2 separate regions of the Homo sapiens genome follow, and region 1 is linked to region 2. Evidence: promoter capture Hi-C in 16 types of primary human blood cells and fetal thymus (Javierre and others, 2016). All regions are on one chromosome and are shown on one strand. The core of a region is centred on a gene start or on the middle of the fragment in contact, and the rest is flanking DNA. Distances in the headings are between cores, read along the strand shown. Region 1 overlaps PRMT2 (protein arginine methyltransferase 2). Region 2 holds the start of C21orf58 (chromosome 21 open reading frame 58).

The links. The method cuts DNA at HindIII sites, captures the fragments that hold promoters and counts their contacts. A CHiCAGO score of 5 or more calls a contact.
Region 1: a fragment that was not itself captured here is called in contact with the fragment with the promoter of C21orf58 in region 2 in 1 of 17 cell types (naive CD8 T cells); the score reaches 5.2 in naive CD8 T cells.

The regions. Positions count from the first base shown.
Region 1 is chr21:46,659,119-46,663,437 of GRCh38, reverse strand. PRMT2 (protein arginine methyltransferase 2) reads right to left here. Exons shown (of 12, transcript NM_206962.4): 9 at 2,476-2,605; 10 at 1,502-1,638; 11 at 1-55. Among named protein-coding and RNA genes, the nearest start is that of PRMT2, 26 kb to the right of the region's middle. RefSeq lists an enhancer at 1,883-1,932 and a silencer at 2,033-2,142. The HindIII fragment of the contact is 3,077 bases long and covers 333-3,409 here.
Region 2 is chr21:46,321,093-46,325,291 of GRCh38, reverse strand. C21orf58 (chromosome 21 open reading frame 58) reads left to right here and starts at 1,422. Exons shown (of 8, transcript NM_058180.5): 1 at 1,422-2,653. The coding sequence starts at 2,554. PCNT (pericentrin) reads right to left here and starts at 1,136. Exons shown (of 47, transcript NM_006031.6): 1 at 1,010-1,136. The coding sequence starts at 1,063. RefSeq lists silencers at 344-803, 1,074-1,403, 3,885-4,147 and an enhancer at 1,754-1,893. The HindIII fragment of the contact is 15,185 bases long and covers 1-2,016 here.

The DNA.
Region 1 (4,319 bases), core at 622-3,121, 340 kb before region 2:
ATGGACAGGGACTGGGTCGTCCATCATGAACAGCGTCTGCTTCCAGTGTGTGGTGCTGCAAGACAGGGGTGCGTGTGACCTGGAGGCTGAGCTAGGGCAGTCTCCACATGGCCCTCGGGGCGCTGACTCAGGCTCGCACTGGCTCTCGCCCCCAACAGCACCCACACAGCCGGCAGTCCACCCTGAGGGCCTGGGGACACAAAGCTTGGCTTTTCAGGCTAACTCAGGGAACATATACACCCCCAGCCCTGTGATCTAAAGGGACTCTATGGGATACACTGGGATCAAAGTTACGCTAGTGAGACAGATCCTGCCAATGCCAAACACAAGCTTGCTCCTGAGACCACTCAGATTCCAGGAGGTGTGGACGGCTCACCCTGGGTGGCCCAGAGGATGCGGGAGCTCAGGGGACACACAGCTGCACTAAAGGTCCCGTGTGGTGTCGACTCCCCGGCCCGCCAGGAGGACGGCTGTGCAACCCCTTCCTGCACCCTTGCCTAAGCTGCAGAGGCTGGTGATCTAGCTCCTGCTGTTAAACTGTGGTGTACACAGACAGAATCAGGTCCAAGGAGTCGCTTCTGTGAAGGTTACAAGGTGAGGACAACTGTCACATTTGGGGGGAAATAGTAAAACGCTATGATTCTGCACTGGGTTGCGTTGGAAACATCTCTAAGTTCCTCAGGCTCTGTCTTCCCTCAAACTCCCACTGTCCACGGTGGGGCCAGCAGTGAAGTGGGGGGCTCCTCAGGTCTCCAGTTTTTCCCTGACTCTGGTCACACCCCTCACCCCAGCCTGTGCCCCAGGTCACTGCCCCCTCCACGCCCCCAGACTCGGGGATGGGTATAACTGGCCTCCAAGCTGCCCACCTCCACCCGGTGATGGCACTGGAGGGGCCACCACAGGACTCTTGTGATGGGGACCACATGCCAGGCCAGGCCATCAACCCCGCACCTCTGCGACCTCCCTGGAGCCGGGGTCCCCTCGCGGGGCCACCACGCTGGGAAGTCAGCGGGGCAGGTGCCAGAGCGGGGTAGCCAACCCCACCCAAAGGGAAGGCCTGCAGGGCCCTGAAGGCAGCTCCACTGCCACACATGCCCAGGGTGCTGGCGGGGAAATGTGTCCCAAAAAACAGGCACCTCCAAAAACGTCAGGTGAACCCCGACGCCCCGTGGAGGCGCTTTGGGTCAGACCATGAAGAGCTGTGGTGCTCCTCGCGGGGTGGAAGACAGGGAGCTCCTCCCGTTGGGGCTGTTGTCGGAGGGACGCCCAGGCTGGGCCCAGAGTGGTGGCGAGACCCGGAAGGGGGCACACAGGCTGCGGTGTCTACACCACCCGTGCCCCCATGCGCGCCGCCCCCACCCCACTGCCCGCGCCCCCACGTGCCCCACCCCCCCACGACCGCCACGCCGCGTCCCACCCCCTCCTGCGCGCCCCATCCCCGCACCCCGCCTACTCCCCTGCCCCCCACCCCGCACCCCGTGCCCGCGCCCCGCACACTCACGGGTGGAAGGGCCCGGTGCTGAGCACCTGCGGCGGCTGCCCCTCCTGCAGGCTCTGGAAGTGGACGCTAAACCAGGCCGTGAAGCCGTGCAGGGTCCCCGCCTTCCTGATGTCGAAGCGCAGCTCGCCCCTCAGGGTCTGGGTCAAGCAGATGACAAGGCACGCGTGGGCACCGCGTGGCACCGCAGGGCCCGGGTTGGGGCGGCCCCCTCCACGCGCCCCGCGCAGACGCTGAATGCGTCAGGAACCGTAGAAAAGCCCCCCAGCCTGGGGAAACCACCCCCAAAACCCGCATCGTGAGTTCAGAGGCTTCAGTCAGAAACGTTTCAAGCATCTGAGCTTCTTGCGCCCAATTTTCTACCCCAGATTCTGCGGAATCTTTTCGGCGCTCAGCTCTTCCAGTTAAGGAGTTGGAGAGCTCCAGGCTGGGCCTTTCCACAGCAGAACGAACTAAAAACCAAAGCGCGCCGGCGCCACCGCGCCCGCCCCATCTCCAGACGCGGCGCCAGCTGGGGCGCCAGGCAGGGCGGGGGCGCGGGGAAACCGCCCAGAGCCCACGAGCGCCACCGCGCGGCCACAGACAGGGATTCACGGAGGGAATTCTAACGATTCTGTCATGAAGAGTGGCTTAAAATACTTGAAAAAAACTGTAATGCAAATACCATAATGAAACGAAATATAATTTATTTGATTTTGAAGATGCTGAGAATATTAAACATAAATCTAAAATGAAGACGCTGGAGACATAAAATGGTGTACAATATGAAAGAATCAAAATAGAACGTAAAAAAGAAAAAAGACTGGAAAAAATCAGTAGCAAACGTTTTATAAATTCACTTATTTGCATAATAAAATAATTAGTTATTCACTCACACCCCCAGCACTCACTGAAGGTTTTTGATAAGCCAGGCTCTGGTCTGAGTGTTTCGTGGTCACTGATTATCGAATGTAAGGAGCAATTCATCTTTTTCTCACCTCTAGATCAGAAATTTGCACGGTTCTCATGTCCAACTGCAATATAGTGCACGGTTCAGAGAGACAGTCTTCTGGTTTCAAAATGTGGTTATACTTGGGCTTTGAAAAAAACTCCTTAACTGCTAAAGATCTAGGGGAAAAGGTCAAAGCGACTGTTGAGAGTCATTGCAAACATCTTAGGCTTCAAAACACACACGTGGGACCGCGGTGAGTGCTCTCCCTTCTGTGTCACCAGGATGCTAAGCCACTATCTGGGGCCCTGGAACCCCAGAGCAGCCCTCAGGCCTCCACAGGCCCTGGGTGCCTCCCGCTCTGAGAAGACCCAGACTCTACCCAGGCATCCAGAGACTTCCTGAGCCTGACCTGGAGGCATTAAGGAGCCTGCCAGTCACTGGGCGCTTCCCTGTGAGGTCTCATTCATGGGATCTGAGCACACGGAAACCAACGCTCACCCCTCATAACCCAGAGGACAAGGGGAGTTGCAGCGTGTCTTGCCTAGTTTTAGAATGTATTTGATTTCAAAATCTTTTGTGGATCTTCTATTAACAGTAAATGAACGCGGTATTCCTGCTGTAGGTTACTCTATAATAAACGAAAGGAACTAGAAGGGCTGAGGTGGCCTGAGTGAGTCTGAGTTTCAGGAGAAATACTTGCTCTGTTGCTACACAAATTCAACACAGAAACAGACACTAGACGCCGCATGGCCCCTGCATGTCACCGTTTGCCAACCCCCATCACTGGCTGCACTAGGCTTGTAAGTCACCGATTATTTACCACAGAAATGTTGTAAAAAATAAGCAAAGCAGTAACTTCTGAAATAGCAAATAAAAGTGAATGTTTTAATAAAGATTCCACTATATTTACACATTTATTTTTCTGATAAAAAATTACAAATTTAAAAATTGGAAACTATGGACAAGTATAAAGAAAAGCTTAAATTCCCCATATGCCTGTCTTAGCATTGTGATATACTTATTTTTATCCCCCAGACATATTTATATAAATTTATTTATGCAAGCAAACATCCATTCTGTATACACGGTTTATTCTGCCAAGCTTTACTGTCTCTTAAACCCTTTCTAAATATCATTACATATCCCTAAAAACCTATGGTTTCTTTTTTAACAGACACACAGCAGTGCTCCACCAGATGGATATACAGCAATTCAATCACGTTCCTCTGGACGGCCACTGGCTTCCAGTGCCGGGAGGAACACTCAGGTGGGAGGCTCTGGCAGTGACTGGGGTGGGCAGCCTGATGCCAACCTCTAAGGCCCTGGCAGCCACACCTCCCTGCCACTGCCAGGCAAGCCTGGGCTACTATTTTAATTTACTCTTTGCTTGTCTGGTAGGGAAAACAGCATGTATTTTAATTCGCATTTTAACTACTAACAACATTATAATTTTTCATATATTTATTGGTAATTTTATTTATTTTTTGCGGTTTGCCTGTTCACATGATTGGGCTGCAATTCCATCTGGCTAGTCATCTCTTTCTAATTGATTCCAAGACCTGACAGCACGTGATTTCTCTAATTACTTGTTTGCTTTTACAATCGTGTTTTTGCTGATTTCTGCCACATAGACTGCCAGATTCTATCTAGCCCAGGGTCCATTCCATCCATTGTTGCTGCTCATTTCTCCACCTAAGATGGTGCACACAGGCCCCCATGGATGTCTGTCGCTGACGCTGATTCCATGCAGAATTAAGTTTTCACGTATGGCGTGAGAGAACAAGGGCTAATCAACTGCTCCAGAATAATTTGCTGACTTGGCCCTCACTCCCTCCTAATCGTAATGCCACCTTTTTCACATACGAAAATTTTTGTTCCTTGCATTCTACC
Region 2 (4,199 bases), core at 173-2,672:
CGTCCCCTGTCCGCCGTGCCCGGGAGCCCCGCTCTTCCCCAGCACCCCAGCCAGAACATCCTGGGGGGGAGCGGCGCGCACCTCGCAGAGGCCGGCCTGCTCCCGCGGTTCCGCCTCGCGCTTTCGGGACTCCCTTTCTCCTGCCCCCGAGTCATGGGCTCTGCGCGCTTTATTCCCACGAAACCTAGGACAGTGGCCATCAAACCGAGCGCTTTTTCACGGAGAAACCCGGGGCGGGAGAAAGACGGGAGCGCGTCCCTTGAAGGCGCCCGGCGCCAGCGCCGCGTGGGTTCCCGGCAGCGTACGCCAGGCCCGGACGGGCAGGACGCGAGCCCAAGGGCGCGGGAAGAAGACGGCGGCCGGGAGCGCCGCGGGGGCCTTTCACACAGTAAGGACTGCAACGCCGCGAGAAACGCGCGGGGAAAGCATCTCCGACGGACGAGGCGAAGGCGCACCCTGGGGAGGCGCTGCAGGCCACCCGCGCCACGCCCCCGGCCCCGGCCGCGCAGGAAACTGGCCCTAGACCAAGCAGCCACCCGAATACCGGCCGCCCGCCCCAGGCCACCCGGTCCCGGAGGACGCGGGAGCCACTGGAAGATCCAGCCTGGGGTCCAGCGCCTGCCGCGCCCCACCCCCTCCGTGCAGCCACGCCACGCCCCTGTAGCCCCGCCCTGCAGCCACACCCCGCCCCGGCGTGCACCGCGCCCAGCCCGCGCCCCACCCCCCCCGACGCAGGCGCAGCCCCGCCCCGGCCCGCCCGAGAGGCGCCGCGCGTCCCGGCCGCTGATTGGCTGTGGCCGCGGCGGGGGCGGGACCTGGCGGAGAGCGGCGGATTCAAGATGGCGGCGGCCAGGAGGCGGCTTCCAGCGGAGCCGGCGGGAAAAAGCGAGACCTCCGCGGCGGCTTCCGCCGGACCGCGTCCTCTCCTGGCAGGGGGCGGTGGCGGGCACCGGAGCCGCCCTTAGGACTTCACGCCAGAGCAGCTAGAGAAGAAGCCCCTAATGTTTACCTTCGTCCTCCCGGCCTCCACCTTTCTGCGCCGCTGCTCTTGCTCAACTTCCATCTCCCTCAGACTCCGCGCGGGCCGCCCGGCGGTGACGGGGCTGACACAGAGCAGCCTTCGCTCTATTTACACTCCCTCCCCCGCGCTTGGGCTCGCCCTCCCCCCGCGACAACTGTCACGCAGCCGCGGCCCCGCCCCCGACACGCGCCGCCAATCAGGGGGCTGCGTTTCCGGTCTCGCGCACGCGCGCTCTGGGCGGTGCAGCCTGGGCGGAGCCCCGCCCTTTACGCTCGCCGGCCACAGATTGGTGCGCTCACGTACCCGCCTCCTACGGCAGGACCAGTAAGCGGAAAGCGGAGGCCTGGCGCCCGCTGTGATTGGCCGATTTTAAAATCCCCTGCCAGGCTGGCCGAGCGGCAAAAAGTTCGCGCTGCTGGTCCCGCGCGGGCGGCCCCTGGGCTTTGTGTCCACCAGGACAGCGGGCCGGGCTCCCTGCAGGCGCGGGCGGCGCCGAACGGTGCTCAGCAACCACCCGGACAGGGCCAGGCCGTTTTCTCCCGCTCAGGCATTAGTCGTTGGCTGTGGGCCGCCGCGGGAAGTTGAGGCCTACCACGGAGGAGGCTGCTGAGGTGGATCTCAGGGGATCCGCAAGGGCTCCCTCACCCTTGCCGGGACCCTGGGAACCCGAAACAAAATCCTACGCCACCAGCCCGCCGAATGCGCCCCCTCGGCCGGGGGTCCTGGGTCTTCAGAGAAGAACTCGGCCGAATGCGGTCAGAAAGCCCGCGAACCGCCTGGACCTGCAGGCCCCGCCGCTTGGAGCTCCCGCCTTTCCCGACCGAGCCCGTGTCTGCTCGTGTGTCTCACTGATGTCTTAGGTCTCAAAAAAAAAAGAAAAGAAAAGGTTTTTAGTAGACAGAAGAGAAATGGGGCCGTGGGTTCGTGGTCCCAGGGGGAAACTGACGTCGCATGAGGTCGTCGTCCCTCAGCTTGAGCTCAGCGGAACATAAGCTTGCAGAGGTGGAAACCACGGAAGGTTTGGGTGTCTTGGAGCTCTCTGGACACCGAAGCCCGGACACAGTCCCGGGGTCCGCACCGCCTGTGACCTGTGGCGGGACCGCCGGGGTGGGCGTTTTCTCAGCTGGCGCGCGCGTAGGTGGAACTTGGGAAACTAACTGGAGCGAAGTGGCAAAAAACCAAGACAGGGCCGGTGACCTCGCGCAGGCCGTCCTTAACTGTGGAGTATTCCTTCAGCTAACCCCTTTATTTCATGTGTCCAAGTCTGGTTTCTGGGTTTCTTTGTAGTCCTCCGGGCCTGTTCGTGCGCCTTCACTTGCAAAAGGTTCGTCGTGGAGGGCCGTGTGCTTGTTTGCAGCAGTAACGATGCCCTTCCCGAGCGTGCTGGAGTGGCTCCTCGCTGACGCAAGCTCACCTTGCAGCCTCCTCAGCAACTGCAACTTAAACGCGCCCTCAGGAAGCCCTGGAATCTCGCTCAGAATTTTTTTTCTTTTTTTGAGACAGTCTCGCTGCGACGCCCAGGCTATAGCGCAATGGCGCGATCTCGGCTCCCTGCAACCTCCCTCAGGAAGCCGTGGAAGCTCGACCGCCAGAAACTTCCTTCTCCTGACTCAGGCCACAGTCTTCTGTGTGGTGAGCGGGGTGTCCAGCGGTCTCCTGGTTCCCAGACTCGGAATTGGGTGGTTTGAGCAAACTCTGGGCAGTGGGCTCATTAGAGCAGGGGCCAGGCAGGCAACACAGCCAAGCGAGCAGGGGCTGCACCCACAGGATCACACTTTCCAGGAACAGAGACCCAGACCGCGCCTGAATCTCACAACTGTTACGTGTTACAATACATTTACAACTGTGGGACTGAGGGGATGTGCCCAGGTTTGCCTAGACTGTGTTCCTCAGAACCCCAGAGTCGTTTCTGTGGACATCCTAGAGAGGTTCTGCTAATGTTGGACTTGGGTCTTATTTCAGTTCTTTTTTCTTTTCTTTTTTATAGGCAGGGTCTCAGTCTGTCACACAGGCTAGAGTGCAGTGGTGAGACCACCGCTCATTGCAGCCTCAACTTCCCCGGGCTCAGGTGATTCTCCATGTCAGCCTCCTGAGCAGCTGGAATTACAGGCACACCACCATGCCCAGCTAATTTTTGTATTTTTAGTAGACACAGGGTCTCACTGTGTTGCCCAGGCTGGTCTTGAACTCCTGGGCTCAAGTGATCCACCTGCCTTGGCCTCTCAAAGTGCTGGAGTTACAGGCATGAGCAACCTCGCCCAGCCTCAATTCATTTTAAACTATTAAAAAGCTGTCAAGGCCAGGCAACCACTGCACTCCAACCTGGGTGACAGACTGAGACCCTAACTCAAAAAAAAAAAAAAAAAAAAGCTGCCCAGATAAATTTTGTAGATACTCACCCTCAAGGAGGGAAACGTAACTCCCCTCTCCTTAAGTGTAGACCACACATAGCCACTTCCTCCCAAAGAGTGCAATAAAGAAAAGGAGGGAAAGAGCCACTTTATTGTGGAGAAAACTGGCAGACTCCACCTCAGCCAAGTGACGCAGGTCAGCCTCACAGTTATAGTCGAGGTGACAGTGTGTGTCCCTGATGTGATGGGGTGACAGTGGCACTTCACCCCTAGATGCTTCCTTTCTGTAACCTGCAGTCCCAGTCTAACCAGGAGATAATAGACACATTTTAATTGAGGGACATTCTTCAAAATATCTGCCCAGTACTCTTCGAAACTGTCAAGGTCATCAAAAACGAGGAAAGTCTGAGAAGGAGCCTAAAGACACATAACTCAATGTAATGGGGTGTTCTGATGGATACCACATTAGGGACATGAGGCAAACCTAAGGAAACTGTCAAAGTGTGGACTTCAGTTACTTGTGTCTCAATATTGGTTCATTAATCATAACAAATGGGCCAGGTGCACTGGCTTTCACTCAAAAATTAGCTGGGCATGATGGCACGTACCTGTAGTCCCAGCTACTCGAGAGGCTGAGGCAGAAGAATCGCTTGAAACTGGGAAGCAGAGGTTGCAGTGAGCCAAGATTGCACCATTGCACTCTAGCCTGGGCGTCGCAGCGAGACTCTGTCTCAAAAAAAATATATATATATATAACATATGTAGCACACTAAGGTAAGATGTTAATAAGAGGGGAAGCCACACATGTGGTATGTGGGATCTCCATG